Linked DNA regions of Homo sapiens: regions 2, 3, 4, 5, 6 and 7 are each linked to region 1. The links are contacts of gene promoters, found by promoter capture Hi-C in human tissues and cell types (Jung and others, 2019). All regions are on one chromosome and are shown on one strand. Each heading gives the region's core, a stretch centred on a gene start or on the middle of the fragment in contact. The rest is flanking DNA. Distances are from core to core; before and after follow the strand shown. Region 1 holds the start of ST3GAL1 (ST3 beta-galactoside alpha-2,3-sialyltransferase 1). Region 2 overlaps ZFAT (zinc finger and AT-hook domain containing). Region 3 has its middle 240 kb from the start of ZFAT. Region 4 has its middle 400 kb from the start of ZFAT. Region 5 overlaps TG (thyroglobulin). Region 6 overlaps TG (thyroglobulin). Region 7 has its middle 490 kb from the start of LINC03024.

The links. Contacts are between HindIII fragments. The study calls those that stand out against the background at their distance.
Region 2: a contact is called between a fragment that was not itself captured here and the fragment with the promoter of ST3GAL1 in region 1, in 1 of the 25 tissues and cell types used here (dorsolateral prefrontal cortex).
Region 3: a contact is called between a fragment that was not itself captured here and the fragment with the promoter of ST3GAL1 in region 1, in 1 of the 25 tissues and cell types used here (lymphoblastoid cells).
Region 4: a fragment that was not itself captured here is called in contact with the fragment with the promoter of ST3GAL1 in region 1 in 1 of the 25 tissues and cell types used here (dorsolateral prefrontal cortex).
Region 5: a contact is called between a fragment that was not itself captured here and the fragment with the promoter of ST3GAL1 in region 1, in 2 of the 25 tissues and cell types used here (dorsolateral prefrontal cortex and hippocampus).
Region 6: a fragment that was not itself captured here is called in contact with the fragment with the promoter of ST3GAL1 in region 1 in 1 of the 25 tissues and cell types used here (aorta).
Region 7: a fragment that was not itself captured here is called in contact with the fragment with the promoter of ST3GAL1 in region 1 in 1 of the 25 tissues and cell types used here (dorsolateral prefrontal cortex).

Annotation. Positions count from the first base shown.
Region 1 is chr8:133,570,035-133,573,136 of GRCh38, forward strand. It overlaps ST3GAL1 (ST3 beta-galactoside alpha-2,3-sialyltransferase 1), which reads right to left and starts at 1,853. Exons shown (of 10, transcript NM_173344.3): 1 at 1,659-1,853. ST3GAL1-DT (ST3GAL1 divergent transcript) reads left to right here and starts at 538. Exons shown (of 2, transcript NR_186509.1): 1 at 538-836; 2 at 1,024-3,102. RefSeq lists enhancers at 1-493, 1-72 and silencers at 1,863-2,352, 2,543-2,602. The HindIII fragment of the contact is 11,226 bases long and covers 1-3,102 here.
Region 2 is chr8:134,550,653-134,553,754 of GRCh38, forward strand. All of the region lies in intron 11 of ZFAT (zinc finger and AT-hook domain containing), which reads right to left. Among named protein-coding and RNA genes, the nearest start is that of ZFAT, 160 kb to the right of the region's middle. The HindIII fragment of the contact is 4,514 bases long and covers 1-3,102 here.
Region 3 is chr8:134,470,742-134,473,843 of GRCh38, forward strand. No RefSeq gene overlaps it. Among named protein-coding and RNA genes, the nearest start is that of ZFAT, 240 kb to the right of the region's middle. The HindIII fragment of the contact is 3,682 bases long and covers 1-3,102 here.
Region 4 is chr8:134,310,597-134,313,698 of GRCh38, forward strand. No RefSeq gene overlaps it. Among named protein-coding and RNA genes, the nearest start is that of ZFAT, 400 kb to the right of the region's middle. The HindIII fragment of the contact is 3,497 bases long and covers 1-3,102 here.
Region 5 is chr8:132,874,808-132,877,909 of GRCh38, forward strand. All of the region lies in intron 5 of TG (thyroglobulin), which reads left to right. Among named protein-coding and RNA genes, the nearest start is that of TG, 9.4 kb to the left of the region's middle. The HindIII fragment of the contact is 5,473 bases long and covers 1-3,102 here.
Region 6 is chr8:132,896,517-132,899,618 of GRCh38, forward strand. It overlaps TG (thyroglobulin), which reads left to right. Exons shown (of 48, transcript NM_003235.5): 12 at 1,133-1,270; 13 at 1,653-1,730; 14 at 2,282-2,394. Among named protein-coding and RNA genes, the nearest start is that of TG, 31 kb to the left of the region's middle. The HindIII fragment of the contact is 4,255 bases long and covers 1-3,102 here.
Region 7 is chr8:134,172,533-134,175,634 of GRCh38, forward strand. No RefSeq gene overlaps it. Among named protein-coding and RNA genes, the nearest start is that of LINC03024, 490 kb to the left of the region's middle. The HindIII fragment of the contact is 5,339 bases long and covers 1-3,102 here.

The DNA.
Region 1 (3,102 bases), core at 603-3,102:
CAATGAACACTGCGTTAGCACCTACGACGTGCCAGGCGCCCTGGCGACTATTGGAAAACCCGGCTCCCCTCTCACCCCGTTTTCCTCGTTGGCGAGTCGGCCTCGCCTCCTCCTCCCGTCTCTTCCTCTCACCACACACACCCAGCCGCAGAGCGGGGGTGGGCGCTCGCTGTCTCCCTGGAGAACCAGCTCGTCGCAAACTTGCGGGGCTTGGGGACCCGCGAGGGGGAGAAGTCGGGAGAGGCCAGGGGTGCCCGGAAACAATCACGAGAAAGCCGGGCGAATGCCTGATGCAGGGACGCGGCGAGCCAGTCACTGCCCTCAGGGTCACGGCTGACTCCCTCTGCGGGACTCGCCCAGCCCGCGAGACGCAGTGACCTGCCCAACCCCCACCCCCTTGCGCGCTTCTGGGTGCGCACGTGTCCCCTCGCCCAACACACCACCGAGCCCCGCGCATGGTACGGCCGCCGAGGACCCTAGCGTAGGAGGGAGGAGCGAGTCAGGGCTCCAGCTGACGAGCAGAGCCAGACGATCCCCACACGCTTCCTGGGAGACCCGGCTGCAAGGCCAGGCTAATGCGCGCTCCGACGTCTCTGTGCCAAGCCGGGGCGCAAGCTCAACCCCCATCTCAAGTTCAGCCGCGCTTCCTCCCGCAAGGTCACGCTTAAACACTCGCGCAGAGAAAGGAGGAGCGGAAAGTTGCGCCACCGTCCCGATTCCAAACTAACTGTACCCTCACCAGAGCGCCTCGCCCCAGGGTCACCGCTGTCCGTCCCCGTGCGCTCCCAGAAGGGGTGGCCCTGCCCCCACGCAGGTCACACACACGAGAGACACAGGCAAGTTGCTAACTTTTGTCAGATTATTTCTTGGGAGCTGCGACGCCTCACGGGGTTGGGGCGGATTCAGAGTTTCGAGTTGCCACTAACACGACTCCGGCCGTGCTCTCCTTGGCCCACCCGCGTCCCCCACTGTCCGCCACGCCGCGTTCAGCTCTCTTGTCCCGGGTGTCAACTTCACCCCCAGATCCGGAGCAGCGCGCTCTGACGGCGTCCCCGGGGCCGATAGCCACCTCCCGGATCTGCGCCTGCTTGCAGCGGATTGGGGGACTCGATCCGGATACTGTCCCACGGCCGCTCGTCCAGAACACTGGCGGCCTCCGCGGTGTCCCAGCCTGTGACCCCAAATCCGCTCGAGAGCGCCTGAGCCCGGCCACCCAGCGAGGTCTCCTCCCACGGGCGGCCCCAGCGGAGGAGATCCCAGCCCGGCGCCGGGTGCAATGTCACTGGGGCTGCTTTCGGGAACCGCTGCCCGGGACTTGGCGTAGGTTCCCCACAGAGCTCCAGGCAGCTCCTCCAGTGTCGGCCGAAGACCCCTAAGCCCGAACCTCCACCCCGACCTTCTTCCTCTCCCAAAGCCCTGGGTGGTCGCCGCTGCCAAGGAAGGGGTCTCCCTTCGAATGTCTTCCACTAGAATCCCGGGGTCTTCAGTCCCAGCTCCACTGTCACACCCTCCTAGTCCCCTCCCCACCCCTTCAGTTCCCGGGTCCAGACAATCAACCTTCCACTCCGAGAATCCACAGGAAACTGCCCGAGCCCCAACTCAGGCGGACGCAGCCCCCGCGCACCCCGAGCAGGGTTCGCCTCCGCGCGCGCACTCACCACGGCTGGAGACACGCTGGAGTTTCCGGGATTTGGGCATGAAGGGGTTCGGAGGAGAATACAGGGGTGTGGGTGTCCCGGACACTTGCCCCCTTCCCAGCTCACATCGCCTCTTCCTTCTCTCTCCGCTCTTCTTCCTCCTCCTCCTCCCTCCGGTCTAGGGCTCTTTGTCTTTGCAAAGTGTCGAAACTGTCTGGCATAGTGGGCTCCGCCGGCGGAGGCTGGAGCCGAGGAAGCGAGGAGGCGGGATGAGGGTGGGAGAGGGCTCGGGAACACCTTCCCCCGGGTGTAACGGGAGTGAAAGGCGGGGCGACCGAGGAGGGGCCGCCTTCCCTGGCCGGCCGGGGCCGGGTGCCAGGGCGCGCCAGAGCCCAGCCACCGCCTCCCCTGCGCGCGGCCCTCCCCTTCCTCCGCCCAGTGCCCGCCCCTCCCGACTCTGCGCCTCCGTTCGGCCCCGCCCACCCCAACTTGGCTCGGCTTTCCCTTGGCTCCGGGCTTCCTGCAAGCCGAATTTAGCTCTGCCAAGCCACGTGGACCGCAGCGGGCTCGGCAGAGGCCGAGCCTGGGAGACGCCGGAGGCGGCGGCTGCGGCGCGGGGACCTGATCGGCGCCCCGAGAGGAGCTCCCCGCTCTCTGGACGCGGCCCTCAAGCTGGCGGGGCTAAGGAAGAGCGCCCGGGAGGCCCGGGAGCCACTGGGGTCCGTTTCAGCAGGAAGACGGGCACGCACCGAGAGGATGGCAGTGCCCAGAAGAACTCGAGTCGGGGGCACGGTGGGGAGAAGGGGCCGATCCCCTGCTGGCGACCGGGCAGAGCCACCCACTTCCTCTAAGGGCGCGGGACTCGAGGTGGGATTTAGGGAGGGGGAAGGGAGGAGCGTGGGCTGGACGACTCTTGCGGCCAGAACCGCGTTCAGAGCCACAGAGCCGGGCACTGCGGCCGGCCCTGGTCCCGGCCCCGGCCCTGGCCCAGCCCTTGCCCTGGCTCGCCTGCCGCCGCTTTTTCCTTCCAGATGCGGAGGCTGCGGCTGGAGCTTGGGGTTTGCGGATTAGGCTTGCAGTTATTCAGCCCTCCCTCTTTTACAGGGAAGCGGGGGCGGTGGAGACTTCTTTTGCTGAAAGGCAGAGTGCAGCGCTTTGATGCTAAATGCAGTACACAAGTCATGTAAATCTGGTTTTACGGTTCTTAACCCCTTACTGAGACTACCTCTTTCGCAACTTTTCGGAGGAATGTTAGAGGAAAGAGGCACAGTTTGCCTTTGGGGTCATTGCATCCTTCCAGCGCCCCTTGCTCCAGCTGGAGAGAGATCAACCTTTTGCAGTGGAAGGGGAGAGTCCCCCAGCCTTTGTTTCATCAGACGGCTGCTGTAGTACAGGGATTCAGGCCAGGGCCCGCATGGCCGGACTTCTTGGTTCAAATCCTGCACTGCCACTCAACGGATGTGTG
Region 2 (3,102 bases), core at 178-2,677, 980 kb after region 1:
AGACAGGATTTTAATTTAACATAAAACAATCCAATTTCCTTTTTTTTCCAGAGGTGCTTTAAACATCTAAAATAGAATGAAGCTGAAGATGGCACTAAGAGGTTTTTAGCAGAGACTTTGCATTTCAAACCAATTTAACAAATGGCCCCTGTTACCACCACCACATGGCCCTGCCATGCATCCCGCTCCCAACCCCACCCGCCACGTTCAAAATTAACAAGAAAACCATGTGTAATCTCAGATTCCTCATTTTCTTGCAAATTTGGAACTGAAAAGCAAGACAAACACCACCAACAGAAACTCTATGCTTTACTTCTTTCCCTCTGCCCCTTGGTTCAGTAGTTTCCACTGAACCTGGAAAATGTTCTGGCTGCTAACTTTACACTCCATCAGCATTTTGATTGAAGATTTTGCTCGAGTCTTGATAGCTAAACATACAGCTGCAGGCTTAAATAGGCATAGCAGTGAGGGGAAAAAGGACAAAGGGGTAAATAAGTTCCTCTGCTTCACTTGAAAATGAGAAAGCGTGGACTAACGCGCAGAGAGTAGTTTTCACTACAGAGACATGGATCAAAATCCCAACTCTAGCTCATAGAAATTGTGTTACTCCTGAGCACATTACTAAAATAGACTGTGGGCCTCAGTGTCCTAATCCGTAAAACGGGGATGTTAATTACCTACCTGGTAGAGTTTTTCAGGGCAAAATAAGGTAATACACAGAAAACACCTGCGTAATGCCAAGCACATGGCTATTACAAAGAAACCAGTCCACCCGTCTTATTCATTCTAATGCTAGATATTTAAACATTCAACCTTGTGGTGGAACTTTCTTGTGGAAAGATGAAAACGTCTTCTAGGTAACAGGAGGAGTTGTAGTATAAATAAAACTGCAATGCCATAAGCAATGCCAGATGACTCAGCATTCTGAGGGGGTGCTGAGACTCTGAGACGATTACTTTGAACTATTTATAAATGTGTGGCTTCCAAACAATCTGCTTATTTGAGATCATTTTATTGCTTTCACTTCCTTGCTGACAAAGTTTAGATTGGAAACTAGGAGCAAATTACACAGCCACATCCTCGGCTGACCTCATCCAAACATCACCTTTGTTCAACTGAGTACCCAAGCCCCTTATACATTCTAGGTGCTCAGATGCCTCGTGTATTTTGTACATACAACCATTTCCCTTTCACACCGACACATTATAAAGGCCTTCAGGACTTATTTCATCATCAGGAATGCAAAAAGAGGTTACACTAATTCCCTTTGACTTGTGGGTATCAGTCAATCAGAGAGCTTTCTGGTTGCAACGGGTTTTTTAAGTTACAGGTTTTACACAACAGGATAATATATTAATCCAATTAAAACATAATTTTTAAAAACTGATAAAGTTGGAATAATTAGTTTGCTGGTTTTCTGGGTTCCCACAGCACCTTGTACATAACTTTTTGTAGCACTTAACATATTTGCTGTTACTTTTGATGTCTATTTGGTTCTCCCCAGACTTGTAACCCTGGCAGACCAGAGGCCTGCCTTCATCCTGAAATCCTCTGCCCCTGTCATGGTGCCTGACACAGAAGTGCCTGGTATTCAGAAAAAAAAAATGTGTTGAAAAATAAGTAAACATTTCATATGCTTTGCATCAAAAAACCAAATGAATAGTTAGCACTTTATTTGTACTTATGTTTTTTCTTAAAATTCTGAATGTCAAATTGTGGTATCATGTATTCTATATGGCATTCTCAGGAAAAGTTTCTCAATGATAATGAAATCGGTGATTGAGATCTCCCTTGCCTCTCACTAGTTTTATGAAAATACTTTTAGTTATGCAAATTTTAGGCTGACAACAGGCAATAGATTTCTCCAGCTTCATGGTGCACATTTTTGAAGATTCAATTGCATTTAGAGATACATCAAACATAAACTTTAAATAGTGTCTTTTCAAGATGATGGCGTGGATGGTTTCCCTTGTGAAAGAGCATACTCATCTATACCAAAAGGCTGATGGCTACAGAAGAGAAGGCCAGTCTCACCTTCTGGAGGTCAGGGACAGAGGAGTGATCTGAGCTATTTGTCAAACAGCAGAGAGGGTTATTCTGTTTCAGAAGCAAAAGCGTCTAAAGTAAGAAGGAAGGGTCAGCATGAAGTCACACTGAAGAATCTCCAAAATGCACAGATTTCAAAAACTGTGGATTTCAGACCTGAATTCCCTTTTTGTGGACTTGCACATTCACACACCAAATTTTGACATGCTTTCCATAAACCAGGAAAAGCTCTTGGTGCACTTGGAGCTTCACAGAGGAATGAGCCAAAGGGCAAACTTCCTCCAGTGCTGGGGCCTTGTGGCATGTCCTGTGCGATGCAAAAAATGGGTGAGAGGTAGTGATGAGGAAAGAATGGTGGGGCAAGGGCAGGGCAAGGCCCTTCTGCAGGAGAATCACACTTTTTGAAAGCATACGCAGCAGGTCCAGCAGTGAAGGGCAGGGCCACTGAGGAGAGAGACATTCACTGTTAGAAGGAGGCTGTTTATTAAGAACTCTGGGTGGGAGACATACCTGGTAAAAGCTTCTCAGCCGGTGCAGTGACTCATGCCTGTAATCCCAACACTTTGGGAGGCCGAGGCAGGTGGATCAAGAGTTAGGAGTTCACGACCAGCCTGGCCAAGATGGTGAAACCCCATCTCTACTAAAAACACAAAAATTAGCCGGGCGCGGTGGCAGGCACCTGTAATCCCAGCTACTCAGGAGGCTGAGGCAGAAGAATCGCTTGAACATGGGTGGCAGAAGTTTCAGCGAGCCGAGATCGCGCCACTGCACTACAGCCTGGGCAACAGAGTGAGACTCTGTCTCAGTGACATATTTATGTGGTCAGGTACATCATGAAAGAATGTGCCACATTAGTGGAATTAAGTGAATATGACTGTGTGAACAAACAGAACATGCCACAGGCACCAAGAATCTTAAACAAAGTCATGAAAGAAAGGAAGATTGTAGAGTCAGGACAGTCCTGTGATGAAAAAAGGAAGAAACCAGGATGGAGTCTCTACAGAACTAACATTTGAGAACAACGTGACAAGCCCTCTTTATTTACTTCCTGACTAA
Region 3 (3,102 bases), core at 346-2,845, 900 kb after region 1:
TTGTAAAAATTAAATTTGATTATGAGTGTAAAAGTGCTTGGTTGGTGGAAATCAAAATATAACACAAATACCCTGGAAATTTCTGTGAGTCTGGCCCTGGAGATCAGAGCATGTAGGACAGGGGTCAGTAAACTATGGCCTGTGGGCCAAACCTGGCTCACCACCTATTTTTATAAATAAAGCTTTATTAAAACGCAACCATACTTATTCATTTGCATACTATCTATGGCTGCTTTCATGTTACAATGGTGCAGCTGAATAGCTGCGGTGGAGACCATATGGCCAACAAAACAAAATATCTACCTGGCTCTACCAAAAACATTTGCTAAACCCTACATGGTTGCAGAAGGCCATGACTCTATCAAGAATCCTCAAAGGATCGAAAAACCAAAACACTGTCTTTGAGCAAACAGAGTAGTATCAGCTATCAAATACTGAGTACATGCTGTGTGCTAAGTATACTAGATGACAAGGTGTAGAATACTGTATCAACTCTACAGATGGTGCAAACATCCCCATTTATAAACGAGCTAACTGAAGCTCAATGAGACTGAGCATTGTCTGAGGCTGCGGAGCCAGCAAGCTGGAGAATGTAGCTTCATTCCATATCCATCACCCCAATCCCAGACTCCTCCATACTGAGTTGACACCTTCCTTCTCCAGGGCTAACACCAACCCACAATGCATGAGAGCTGGGTGGGACCTCGGAGATCCTCCAACCCCAAACCCCTGACTGTATGCCAGGGAAACTGAGGCCCAAACAATGCAAGGTCACTCAGAGAGTCCATGGCAGAGATGGGGAAAGAGACCACAGCTCCTGGCTCCCTAAAAAACGATGTCTTACTCAGGTGAGCACCTGCTCTGGGTCAGGTGAGGTGCTAGGCAGGTAACAGATCTATACAACAGCTGTAAGCATGTTAGTACCTCCATTTTTCAGAAGAAGGCACTGAGGCTCTGAAATCAAAGGCGATGTGTTCCAGAGCACACAGCTAGTAGAGCTGAGGGATGGATGTAGGTTCCTCTGAGTTCAAACTTGTTCTCTTCTCACTGCCCAGGCTGTGAAGTGGGGCCATCCGAGAAGCAGAGAAGGGCCACACTCCTCTGCTCTTCAGGGCAGTCCATGAGTCCCCCACATCCACTTTCTGCTGGCACCCAGCTGGGGTAGGTCGGCTTGGGTGGGGGAGCCCCCGCGGCTGAGGCTGACGTAATCAGCACTCAGGGAACACTGTCATTGCCATCCTTCAATGGAAGGAAGCTGCAGTGCCAACAGCTCAAATGACTTGCCCAAAGCTGCACAACTAATTTAAATTAGAACAAAAATCCTTCACTTGGAGCCCATGAACGCCTTACAACTGTGCTTAAGTTTTGTGTGTGTACACAGTTTTCTGGGGGGTAGGTCTATGGCTTGCATCAGAACCCGCAGAGCTGAGCGGCCCTACAAAGTTAAGAGCTGCTGTTCAGATCCAGGGTTCATGGCAGGCGTGCCCAGCACATTAGCTTCCAACGTCTGTGGGACTCTCCTCCTCCCTGCTCCCCTTAGCCCAGAACATTCTCCCAACCACAGCCTCCTCCAGTCCTCCCTCTCTGACATCTAGGATTTGGTGGAAGGTCTGTGACTGGCACAAGCTTTATCTTTTGAGCCTCTGGAATCCAGGTGTCATGAGGGCAGTGAGTCAGCAATAGCCAGGAAGGAGGCTACTCTCAGAGGGTGAAGCACAAGGGACAAGCCTTCCCGGGACTGCGGCAGGAATCTCAGACCCTTGAAGACACACGCCTCACTAATGGGCCCAAGCAGGAGTGTCTCAGAGAGTCACTTGCTCTGTGCCATCAGGGGATCCCCTTTCCCTCTTGGAGTCTCAGTTTGCTCATCTGTGAAATGAAGCAGCATGACTGTCTCCCTCAGTCCCTCCGGCCCTGGCCTTCTGGTCTTGCTTCGTAGTCTCCGTTCTGCATTCACATCGCTCTTTGACCATCGCTCCTGATCACTGCAAATGGAGAAGTCCCTTCCAGGCTCCCCCAGCCTCTGGGGCTCCTGCAAGGGAACTCACCCTCCAGGTTGTTCTGCCACTCATGCATCCAACATGGTTATTATAGAAAACAAATGATGACAATACTCACAAGGACTGTAAGTTAACCCTCCTTGGATGCCTGCACATGCTGGAAAATTGACATGCATCATCTTATCGAAGCCTCACAGCAATTTGATGAGGAAAGCGCTACTGTGATCCCCATTTTAGAAATGGAAAAACTGAGGCTCAGAGAGAACATGCGATGTTCCCAGCTCTTACGGGGTGAACCGATGACTCCAACCTGGGATTCTGACCTCAGACACGGCCACGATTCAGTCGCTCACGACATAGCTACACTTCTTTTTTTTTTTTTTTTTTTTTTTTTTTTTTGAGACAGAGTCTCGCTGTGTTGCCCAGGCTGGAGTGCAGTGGCGCAATATCTCGGATCACTGCAACCTCCGCCTCCCTGGTTCAAGTGATTCTCCTGCCTCAGCCTCCTGAGTAGCTGGGATTACAGGTGCGTGCCACCATACCTGGCTAATTTTTGTATTTTTAATAGAGACAAGGTTTCATCATGTTGGTCAGGCTGGTCTCGAACTCTTGACCTTGGTTACTATAGAATACAAATGATGATAATACTCACAAGGACTGTAAGAATTAACTTCATTAACTGTTGTCACTGATGATTTTCCCCTTGTTCTTCAGTTCCATCTTTCAAGGCTGAAGAAAAAAGAGCATTTGATTCCAAATCCATCTCCCCACTCCACCCCTTTTAAAATTCAAAATGAACTTTCCATCCTATCCTCTGAGGGCCGCCTCGGCCTCCCAAAGTGCTGGGATTATCCACACTTCTTCTTTACAGAGTGCCAGCTGATAGGCTTCTAGATATGCCTGGACTGGGTGGACTCTATTAGTTATTACAGTCAATAATGCTATAACTATGACCTACGCAGGACAGAAGCTGGGTGAGCACCCTTCCCCCAGGCCCTGCAGAATCTGTCTCTTGAGGCCAACTGCCCTCTAGGTATCTGCATGTGACCTAAGTGTTCACTGCAGGCAGTTCTGTCCCTTGCAGCTCCTTTATCAGTTTCAC
Region 4 (3,102 bases), core at 232-2,731, 740 kb after region 1:
TGATGTTAGGGTGTCAATTTTAGATCTTTCCTGCTTTCTCTTGTGGGCATTTAAGTGCTATAAATTTCCCTCTACACATTGCTTTGAATGTGTCCCAGAGATTCTGGTATGTTGTGTCTTTGTTCTTGTTGGTTTCAAAGAACATCTTTATTTCTGCCTTCCTTTCATTATCTACCCAGTATTCATTCAGGAGCAGGTTGTTCAGTTTCCATGTAGTTGAGTGGTTTTGAGTGAGTTTCTTAATCCTGAGTTCTAGTTTGATTGCACTGTGGTCTGAGAGACAGTTTGTTATAATTTCTGTTCTTTTACATTTGCTGAGGAGTGCTTTACTTCCAACTATGTGGTCAATTTTGGAATAAGTGTGGTGTGGTGCTGAGAAGAATGTATATTCTGTTGATTTGGGGTGGAGAGTTCTGTAGATGTCTATTAGGTCCACTTGGTGCAGAGCTGAGTTCAATTCCTGGATATCCTTGTTAACTTTCTGTCTTGTTGATCTGTCTAATGTTGACAGTGTGGTGTTAAAGTCTCCCATTATTATTGTGTGGGAGTCTAAGTCTCTTTCTATGTCACTCAGGACTTGCTTTATGAATCTGGGTGCTCCTGTATTGGGTGCATATATATTTAGGATAGTTAGCTCTTCTTGTTGAATTGATCCCTTTACCTTTATGTAACAGCCTTCTTTGTCTCTTTTGATCTTAAGACTAAGTGGCAGAGCCAAAATTTGAACTCAGGGAGTCTGACACCACTGAAGGTTGAAGCCTATGCTTCAACCACTCTAGATACTCTAGATACTGCTTCAGAGACATGCAAACGTGGAGGTGCATGGACGCACACACAGACTTCTAATCATGGACTCTTCTCCCCCATGGTGTCTTCTCGTGTGCTACCTACCAGGCCCTCGCTGGCATCAAAGGGAGACAGAGCCGCTGTCACAGTCAGGAGTTGCCTCTCTGGTTCTGCGGGACCCAGCCCCCCTGGAGGTGGGAAACTGCAGAGGAAGAGGAAGTGGGTTGTCTGGAAAGGCAGGGCTGGGCCACAAGCCTACAGTTCTGCAGGCTTTGCTACTGGTGTGAGTTTCTTCCAGATTCACAGGAGAAGGAAGCTTAGGAGCAGCTGGCCTCCCCCGGCATCTCTGCAGGGGCCAGATTGCGTTGCCTTTTATGTTGTTTGTGCCCCATCAGCAGTTTCTCTTTGCAGTGGAAAAACATCCCACCTTCAGGGAGGCCTCTCAGCTCAGGGGTCTTTAGTGACCTCAATGAGGTAGAAAAAGTGCTTATATCTCTGCAGAGGAAAGGGAGCATCTCAGAGGTAAGAAGAAAGAAGCCCAGCAGAGGCCAGAAGTGCAGAGGCACAGACTCAAAGGGATGGATGCACCAGTGCCACACGACATTAGAGGCTCTTGTCTCCCATGCACCCCACCCCACAAACTTCACCTCCATCCCCCCTAAATCATGCCTCCTCACAGCCCCTCAGGTCACGCCTCTGCACAAACCCCTCAAGGCCTCTCCATTGACCTCAGAAAAAGTCAAAACTCTTCAGTATGGTTGAAAGAGGGGTGGTCAGCCCACCCCTCCCTCACCTGCTACACCCCAAGCATGCTAAGCTACTTGGGCTTCCCCAGCAGGGCGTGTGCAGCCTCCACACCAGTATCCCAGCTGTGGCCTCTGCCTGTGACATCTCTTCCTCCGCTGGACATTTCCCAAATCTCTACACTTCAAGATTCCACTTAGTCATCTCTCCCCTGAGTATACACACACACATACACACACACACACACACACACACACACACACACACCCCTCCCGGATTTTAGAGTTCTGAGTCCCTCCTCTGGATGCCTGTTCTGACAATGCTATAAAGAACTACCTGAGACTGGGTTATTTATAAAGCAAAGAGGTTTAATTACAGTCACACAGGCTGTATAGGAAGCATGGCTGAGGAGACCTCAGAAAACTTGTAATCATGGTGGAAGGCGAAGGGGAGGCAGGCACATCTTACTCGGCTGAAGAAGAAGGAACGTGAAGGGGGAGGGACTACACACTTTTAAACAACCAGATCTTGTGAGAACTCACTCACTATCAGGAGAACAGCACGGGGGAAGTTCACCTCCATGACCCAATCACCTCCCACCAGGCCCCCCTTCCAACATTGGGAATTACAATTTGACATGAGATTTGGGTGGGGACACAAATTCAAACCCTATTAGTCCCCCAGCAGCCTGCAGGGTCCTCTCTCAGAAGGCACCACACTATATGATACCCACTGATGCGACTAGAATCTGAGCTCCTTAAGGGCAGGACTGGAACCGATTCACACCTGAATTCCCTACACTACACACAGAACTGGTATATATGACACGCTGAATAAATGCCTACAAATTATCCTAATTCACTGCATTGTTAGAATCAAATGATATGACAGATGCAGAACATTTGGTAACCTGAAAATAATTATATAAACTAAATGTACTACTTCATAATGACTAATGAGATAAAAGAAATTTTACCCAAAGCCATTTCTAACATAAAAAATGTCAGACACTGTTAAAGTGCTATTTCTAATCAGCAATTATGAGCAGGGTTTTTCTTCCTTATTAGCAGGATTGTTTTCCTTAAAATAAAGAGGTTTTGGGGTTTATTTCATTTGTATATTTAGATGTAGCTTTTGTTTTTATTTATATTCCTAAATCCAAAAAGATTTAAGGCAACTTTTAAAGGAGTTAACATTTTCTGTATTTCCCACCACCCTCAATCACACTGCATAACTTTTAGAATATTCAGAAATAATACTGAGAAACAATTTTGTTTGGGAGTTTTTCTGACTGGGGTCCACAGTGCCAAGAGACCTCAGAGAAGGGAATGGAAGGTAACCCCAGGGTTGACACTTGGCCCAGGCTTTGGATATGTTTGAAAATGATAAACCTGGGTCATTGAATCCTTCTTAGAAAGTGAGTGGTCAGAACTGCTAGACACTGCAAAATTACTTTCATCAAAACATAATAGAACCCTGTGTTAGATGCTTCCCATGCCTTTTCTTGTTTAAATCTCACTAGGAGGAAGTCCAGTTAGTTCTTCATTTTGTATTTGAGGAAGCCAGTGTTCA
Region 5 (3,102 bases), core at 251-2,750, 700 kb before region 1:
ACAAGGGTGAGAGGCTGCACGCACGCACTCACTGGTGGCATCAAGACACTGGCTTTACTGCTCTTTTTAGACCAAGGACACGCCCTTCTGTGCTCCGGGTCCCTCTGTGCTCTGTTGCCACACCACTGCCTACCTCATCCATTTATATGACCTGCCTGGTCCTGTAGCATTTGCCTTTGGGACCTGCCTTCTGCCTTTGCCCCTGCTTAGCACAGCGACCTGGCCACTTACTCTCTCAGAGCCTCAGTGTTCCCATCCGTCAAATGGAAGACAAGCCCCTGCTCATTACACCATAGTGAAGATTTGATGAGGCCTCATCTATGAAACCATGGGTGCAAATTTACAAAGTTGTAAATTACTATACTTCTGTAGGTAATTCTCATGCATCAGCCAGCTTCAGCAAATGTAGGTTAGAATTTCCCCCTCCAGGCCTGGCCTGCCTGAGAGCAAGTATAAATCTCAAACAGCCAGTTTTATTGAGTACTTATTGCTGCAAACCAATGTGTTCTCAGTTCAAGATCACCTGAGTGCTTACTATATAATGGGAATTTTATATCCTTTAACTTACCTTAATACTTATAATTAGATAATTATAGTCATTACTATACAAATGATTACTGAAACACAGAGGTTAAGGAACTCACCCTAGTAAGCTTAGGTGCTAGAACTGTCTGGCTCCTTTTAGTATCCCACATAAATGTAACTCATCTCTGTTCCCCTACAGTGCATGGCACAGAGCCTTGCACACAGCAGGTCTGGAATCAGTGCTTAAGGAATTGGTGAATGCATCCAAGACCCTGGTGTGTGCCACACTGAGGTTGAGGCACAATTCACAGCTATTTCCACAAGAGGGCAGTCGAGTTAAATGCAAAAGTTCAGAATAAGCATTCTTTGTTTAAAAGAAACACAAAAATTTACTCCTGAAATGGGAGCCTTTTCATTTTGTAAGAAAGCATGTCTCTGAGTAAATTATGGTATTGAAAGGTCATGGGAAGGGTTGGGTGGTTGGTTACTGGAAGCCCAGCTGTAATCAGGGATTTTCCGATACTTAAGTAGACCTGGGTAGTCGCAGGCCCAGTGACTTCTCTGGGCACAGTGGAAGGAGCCTTGGAGGCCATATAGAGGGCCTAAGCTTAGCGACTCAGGTTTCTAGGTAAAATACGAGACAGCAAGTTACGTTTGAATTTCAGATAGCAAAGAGTAATTTTTTTTTTCAGTGTAAGTATGTTTCAATATTGCAGCAAGCATGTGAAGCTTGGGGTTGGGGAAGGGTATATCATAATCACCACTGGACTTGGATTTCTGAAAAAATGGAATGGGTGAGGGGAGAGCAGAGTGAGTGCAAGGAGGCAGCCCTCCGAGTTTGGAGGCTACTGCACTAGTCCAGGCAAGAGACGACGTTGACATGGAGCAAGTGTCGGAGAGGACAGCCAAGAGATGGGGTGAGACTGGAGGAATATTTACCAGGTGGAATCCACAGAACTTGGTGAAGGAATTGATATGGAGGTGAGGGTCGGGGGGAGTCAAGAATGACTCCTAGGTCTGGTTTCTGGATGGATTCTTGAGGATAAATTTGAAAAGGAAAAGCCACAAGCTTTGTTTTGGGATGTTGAATCTAAGGGGATTTTTTTTGAAAATTAAAATGGAGAAGTGGCAGAAGGCAGTTACTTCCCTGGGGCCACCAGAAGGCTGGAATCCTGTGGGCAGCTCATTCGCTGACCTGCTGCTGTGAGTTATTTATGTGCTGGGTGATGGTTTGCACTTGAATTTGGCAATGATGTTTGCCCATCTGAAGTAGGTCCTTTTGCCCTTCAAGAAGGCTACTGCTTACAATATCTGTTTGGCTGGAAAATTTTAAAGAACCATGTTGTAATGGGGAGCAAGCTTCACTGGTCCTTCTGACTCATGCCCCATCTTTTATATTGCCCTAGCCCAACCAGTAACTGTGGACACACATTCTGACCAAGCAGATCATAAGTAAAGGTCTTAAGAGCCTTCAAGCAGGGCTAATGCCATTGTCAAAGCCTTAATGATCTGAGTTAATTGGCTTCTTTATTAACCCTTGTCCTTAATGACTAAACACACTCAAACTTCTTAGCAACCAGTCTAACTTCAAATGCCTTAGCCACCCATGCTACCCAGATTGCCCAGTGGGAAGAAGGATCAGATGTGTCTTAATATATGGTAAAGGGGCATTGTAACCAGAATGTGGAAGGTACTGTATGGAGAAATCCTCACTGGGGAAGCACCAGATCACCCTCATTACAGACACCTGTGGTGGTTGGCTATGCATCAGGCGCTCTGCTAGGCTACGGCCCCCTCTTATTTTATTTTATTTTATTTTATTTTTGAGACAGAGTCTTACTTTGTCACCCAGGCTGGATTGTAGTGATGGGATCTCAGCTCACTGCAACCTCTGCCTCCCAAGCTGAAACAATTCTCCTGCCTCAGCCTCCCAAGTAGCTGGGATTACAGGCATGCGCCACCCCACATGGCTAATTTTTGTGTTTTTACTGGAGACGGGGTTCACTATGTTGGTCAGGCTGGTCTGAAACTCCTGACCTCAAGTGATCCACCCACCTCAGCCTCCCAAAGTGCTGGGATTACAGGTGTGAGCCATGCCCGGTACGGCCCGCTCTTTTAAGGAGCACCCTCCCTAGTGCAGGACAGAATGAAATACATGGCTCATTTGTGAGTCAGTGTTTAGATTTCCAAAGAACTGCCTGTGGGAGATGTTAGAGAATCTGACTGAGCCCGGAGGCAGGAATCGTACTCTGCGAATGAACAAGACCAGATGCCCAGTGGAGACCAGAATTTCGCATTCCTCTGAGCCTTGGTTGTAATTTCTCTGTCTAGGTTGGCTGTAATCTGAGCATAAACTCAGAAATGCCACCCCTTGCCCCTCTGCTAGCATTTGCTTTCTTGAGGATTCTTCTATGGCCACCCTGAGATTTTGCTTTTTATTCAACAAAAGGCAAACATCCTTTTCCACTAGATTGTGGGCATACAGAAAATTAGGAAGATTCTGAGCTTGAACTCACTGGTGATTGCTCTGTTGGAGTGGTAGTCCAAAATATGGTATTTTTCAATTTTTAAATATTG
Region 6 (3,102 bases), core at 209-2,708, 670 kb before region 1:
GGTGAGGAGCCCCAACCTGCCCCAAGTGCCAGCAGGAGTGGAGAAAGAGCTCAGGCGACAGTTCATGGCCACTTAGGAGGAGGGTGGTGGTTGTGGCAAATCAGACTGGGCCTGGTAAGACCCACACCAAACTGATGTGTGTCCCACCCGCTGCCCACCCTTGCTTCTTCCTCTCCCCCTCATGCATTCATTCACGCTTTTTTCCCAATCGGTGATTTCTTGAGTGCCTACTATGAGCCAGACACTCCTCTACATGCAAAATAAACACAAATCTCTGCACCAAAGAGCTTAAATGCTAGTGCGGAGGAGACAAATCTAACACAATAAATGGGAACACTATGTACTATGTTGGTGGTGGGGAAAGCCATGTGCAAAGCCCAGTGGGTCGGGGACTGCAAGAGCTGAGGACAGATGCAGTTTCATTAGTGGGGTGGCCAGTGGTTCATCATATAACCTCCCTCGCTGAGCCTCTGTGTCCTCACCTGGGGTAAAAGTTCTGGCTTCATGGAGCTGCTGTGAAGATCTGATATGATTTTTGTGGATATCCAAGTTTCAAAGGGGTTAAAAACTAAACTGTAGGAGTTTGGTAGGGAAACCTACGAGGGCAGCTGATGTCAATCGCCCTCCTGTGTTCCAAGGCCAACCTCTCTTCTTTCTGTCTGTGAACCCTTGGTTAAGTTGCTTAATCCATCTGTGTCTCAGTTTTCTCATCCATTAAATGGGATAACATGACATTTCTTCAGATTGCTGTGAGGATTAAATTAATTAAGGTATGTATTTAGCTAGTGCCTCACACATAACATATGAGTATAGAGCCTACCTATTATTACTATTATCTCATGTGCCTGAAGACACTTCACTGACCTACTGATTTCTGTATGGAAGTTATTGTAGAGGTCTACTATAATATTCTTTCAAGCTTCAGCCTAAGTGTTATTCTTAAAGGACAATCTGTTGAGTGCCTGCCTACTGTGCAAGGAGCCTTTGTAATACTGTGGGTTGAAATGTTTGTCAAATAAATAAATAAGAAGGCCTCCTTATGTTGGAACCAGGACATACGTGGTTGTTCTCAGCTACAGAGCCCACACAGAGCAGGTGGTCATATTCTGCTTTTCTCCTTCCCTGACTCCAGCCTTAAGCTTCTATCAGAGACGCCGCTTTTCCCCGGACGACTCGGCTGGAGCATCCGCCCTTCTGCGGTCGGGCCCCTACATGCCACAGTGTGATGCGTTTGGAAGTTGGGAGCCTGTGCAGTGCCACGCTGGGACTGGTAAGGAGGGATAGGCACCTTCAGGTGGCCAAGTGACACCCCTTTTTTATTTTAGAGGACAGAGCCCCACACTGGGAGGCAAGTGAGCTGGACTCTTAGGCTCCTCTTTAGCAGCTGGTGAAAAATTCCTTAGCTTCTCGGGCCTCCAGTTATCTCACTTGTGTAACAGGAGCAGGAAACTTCTACCAGCCTGAAAGACAAGTGGGTGGTTGCTGGGGGCATCAGAGTGATTGTGGACAATGTCCGGCTGGGGGTCTAGACTGGGGACAGAAGGCGACCAGGCTTGCACTGCTATGAGTGAAGAAGGAAAGTTGTTTATGGGACACTCCAGGGTAAGTCCCTAGTGCAATTCCTGAATGTTCTCCCCTTGGCTCTTTTCCAGGGCACTGCTGGTGTGTAGATGAGAAAGGAGGGTTCATCCCTGGCTCACTGACTGCCCGCTCTCTGCAGATTCCACAGTGTAAGTGAAGACTGCAGAGTTCTCCTCCTGACCCCCCTTGGTGGGCATCACTGGTCTAGTCAGCTGTGGTTGCCTAACCGCTGGAGACTCCATGGCCCAGCCCTTCAGCCAGGTCCCGGGTGCAGCCAGACGCATTTCCCAAGTCCCCAGGCCTGCAAGCTTGCGCTGACCTTGGCACTTCCTAGTTGGAAGGCTCCCAGCTTTGCAGGTGGAAGGAAACAGCTGAGACTGTTGAAGGAGCCCTGGTTCTCCCCCTCTGTACATCTGCTGGGCAATTTCAGCCACTCCTGTAGTTTCAGCAACCGCCTCGCCTCTGAACCTGCAGCCCCAACCCCTCTTCTGAGGCTCAGCCATGTGTAATCCACAGTCCACTTGACATCTCAAAGCTGGCATGTCCCACATGAGTCTTTGTCCTCAGAGATTCTACCTCTCTATGAAGAGCACCTGCATTCACCCAGGCTCATGACCCTTAAAGGTGGGGTCAGCCTGGGATCCCCTCTTTCTCTTGGCTCCCACGACCAGTCCTTTACAAGCACCTCTCTCTCCCACAGGCCCGACAACCTGCGAGAAATCTCGAACCAGTGGGCTGCTTTCCAGTTGGAAACAGGCTAGATCCCAAGAAAACCCATCTCCAAAAGACCTGTTCGTCCCAGCCTGCCTAGAAGTAAGGGTCTGGAAGCACAGGATTGGAGCCGGGACTTGTCCCCGCTGGTCAGAGATGATTTTTCTTTTTGTTCAATACGTTCAGCTTAGTTAAAAGCTCACATGATGTTCTCAGCCTGGGTGTTTGTCTGGGCCTGCTAGAACCTGGTTCTGTGACCTTGGGCTATTTACTTACCTTTTCTGTGTCCCAGTTTGTTTTGTTTAATCATAAGATCAGGCCACATTTTGTCCTAGCTAATGCTAGGTTTGTTTTGAGACTCCAAGAAAATATCTTTCATAAGAACTCTTTGAAAAATAAACAAAACATGCTATCATGTTTTTCCTAAAGGCATCTTGGCCAAGGCCCTATGCTTACAGTGTCCCAGGTTCTCAACACACACAGAGGACACCAGCTTCTTTCCCTCCCTAGCTCCCGGGGTGATTGTAACAATTCATAATTCAGCGAAGTACTGATGTAGAGCTCCTAGAGAACGAATTTATGCCCAGAACTTAACCACTTACTTGCCAAGTGAGGGAAATCTCTGGGCTTAGTGTCCTTTTTCTAAAATAGGATGGTAGGAACACCACCACCCACTCTGCTCAGCTTCCAAAGACTTGATGAGAAGCAGATGAAACAGCAGTGTTGAAACTCATGAAACTGTACAGTACTAAGCAAAAGTTTCCTTATTATTGTTTGGTACTGTAAACATGGACCCACTTAAGCATAGTT
Region 7 (3,102 bases), core at 341-2,840, 600 kb after region 1:
AATATGTTTGGAACCTGCTTTGCATCCCTCTTCTTAGAGACTCAAATCACACATTTGCATGTTTTGTTTTGTTTTGTTTTTGAGAGCTTCAAGAAGTACTTCAGTTTTTAAAAAGCAGATTTTAAAAACCTCTCTTTTATTAATTTCATATACCATTTTTTGGTAACATCTGTTGACATCTTAGGGAATTTAATTTGGGAAATAGCACTCTAGGCAAAGGAAAACCCATTGCTTCTCGGCACCCTCTGCAAGTCTTGCAGCTCCTCATCCAGGTAGGTGTGCACTGTATGTTCTGCCCTCCTTCTAACTTCCAATAAGTCTCAGCCATGTTCTTTCTTTTTTTTTTTCTTTTTCCTGCAAGACAGACCTATAATATATGACAATCTTAGAAATGGAATAGGCTTATTTTTTCAAATAGTGTTATTCAATTCTAAAACTTCTATTTCATTCTTTAAGTTTCCATTTCTCTAATGAGACTTCCCATCTTTTTATTGACTACAAGTTTATTTTCCTTGCTTTTTTGAATATAATTACAGTAACTGCTTTAAAATATTTGATAACTCCCATTAATCATTTCAAGATTGATGGATGTTGATTGTCTTTTGAGAATTAATGACATTCCTGGATCTTCATCTGTTGAGTAATTTTTGTTGTCATGTCTTGGACATATTAATGTTAGATTTGGAGGTTCTAGATGTTATATTCTTCGGAAATATAATTTTATCTGTCGGTTTGCTTTGTTTTTATCAAGGATTTAATTTGATTAGACTCAAATTGCAAACTCTAGCTTTTAAGTAAAAGCTTAAATTTCCACCTTAGCTAGAATCTGTCTCACACTTGCGTAGTTCATGAATCACTTGAGATTTGGACAGAATTTATACTTGAAATTTTTGTTCCCTCCTTCCAGTCATGCTCCCTTATTTTCCAATCATTGTGGTTGCTCCACTCTCTGTCCTTTGGTTCTATGAACCAGAAAGATGGTAAATTTCTTTATTTTTTTGGGGGGGGTTGGTAGTTTTGGTTGGTAGTTTTTTTTATTGTTGTTTTTTATTTTTATTTTTTTAGCTGTGTTTTGTTGGTTTGATGTAGCCATCCAACATGGCACTGACTTTAACCTGTTTTCAGGCTAAAAGTGAAAAAATAAAAATAAAAAGGGCCACTTATAGCATGTCATCCAGTCTTCCAGCCAGAGTCTGCCTGGTTTTGTTTATTTCTAGTAACTTTGGGCCATGTTTTGTTTTTCCCTCACTATTTATTATATTACCTGTTGGAGGATCATGTCTGGGAGGAACTACTTAGATATATTGCATTCAAAACTCCTCTGTTTGTTTTTATTTTTCCTCCTGTGAATGACTAAAGCAAATTCCAATCTACTATTTTAATCAAATAATTAATTAACAATTTATTGATACACCATTTTATGTGCAGTACAATGGTATAAGGGGAAGGGGATAGAATAAGTTCAAAATATGATAGAAACTTTGGTGTTTCAATTTACTTTTGTAAGAGTTGTCTGGCTTTAATGTTTTATCTCAGACTGCCAAAAACCATGGTGGAAAGAATTTTTGTTTTTTTTTCCTGAAAGGTAAATGGAATCTATTTCCAGCTCCGCCACTAACTTCCTGTATAATCTGGGAGATGTTATTTGACTTCACTGAGACTCAGTTTTCTCATCTGATATTAAAGCCAGATGTACTAGACAATCTCTGATTACCTACCAGGTCTAACATTCTCTCATTTTACTGAAGAAAAAATAGCTAATTCTTGGACCTCCCCCAGATGCCTGAAAAGTTGTAATTAGGACTTTTTTTATGTTCTTGATTTTTCAGATTCAGGGTTATTAAGTACAACATCCTACTGTGAAAATACTAAGAAGAAGTCTTTTCTTCCTCTGAGGTTAATATATAGGACATTGGTTCTTCTTCTAATTGGATAGGTCACCCAGAATACCTCTTACACTTTCACAGAGTGTGCCCAGTGTATAACGTGGCAGACCGGAGCACTGCCTAGAGTTGTAAGACCAAATTCAGATTGTAAACCTAAGCTCATTTACGAAGGAACCGCAGCTCAGGAATTAAATACAACTTAATTTAGTTCTTCACAGAAGATGAGTTTTGCAGTCAGAAATACCAGAGGTTATATCCCATTTCATCATTTAATAACTGTGTGTCTTGAGCAAATCACTGCATCTTTCTGAGCATCAGTTTTCTCAGGTTAAAACTAAACTAACAATCACCAGTCTACATATTAACATATTCCAAATTATCTAGTACAATGTCTAATTGCATTTGATCAATATGAATTTGTACCACCCCCATGCTAAGTTAGGCTCTGTGCAGTGATACAAAAGAAGGAACAAAGGAGAGGCTTGACCCACAAAAAATTTGCAGTCATAGTTGGAGACAGAAATACTACATAATTAGGTAAAATCTAATATGGGTCTTAGACAAGCAGCACTTATTTGTGTAGATTTTAGACATTTTTATTCATAACAGCTTACAAGAATGCACCTGCAAACCTTAAGAATCCAGATACACTATCTCTTAACTACTTTTAGCCACATTTAAAATTGCATTTGTATTTTATAAGCCTCCTTCATATATATTATTGTGTTTAAACCTCAGAACAACCAAGATGAAACAAAATACTGTCTCTTTCATTTTATATTTGAGGAAACTGAAATTTAAATGAGTCAAGAGACTTGCCCAACATCTCATAACTAGAAAGCTGCAGAACTATACTTAGATTGCAAGTTTAACTGACTTTAAGCCCATTTCTCTCTCCCCATTTCCTAGCTGCAGCAAATTCAAACCATTGAATAATTTTGATCAGGTCCAATTACACCATGCGTGGGGAAAGAGAGCTTCTCATTTTGAGGTCACATAAAATAAAGCATTTGACATTTCCTAGACAGTTTCCCAAACATGCACTTGCTTTTTCTTACCTACCATTCTTTTCTATTTTAGATGTAAGTACTCCTCACAACTCTGCTATGAATGTTTTTTCATGGTACTGGGTGAGTCAGTTAATCTGATTTCCACAGAATTTCTCATTTCTGGGCCCACCTTCCCATCTTCTGACTATTCTCTGTGTTCTGGTTCT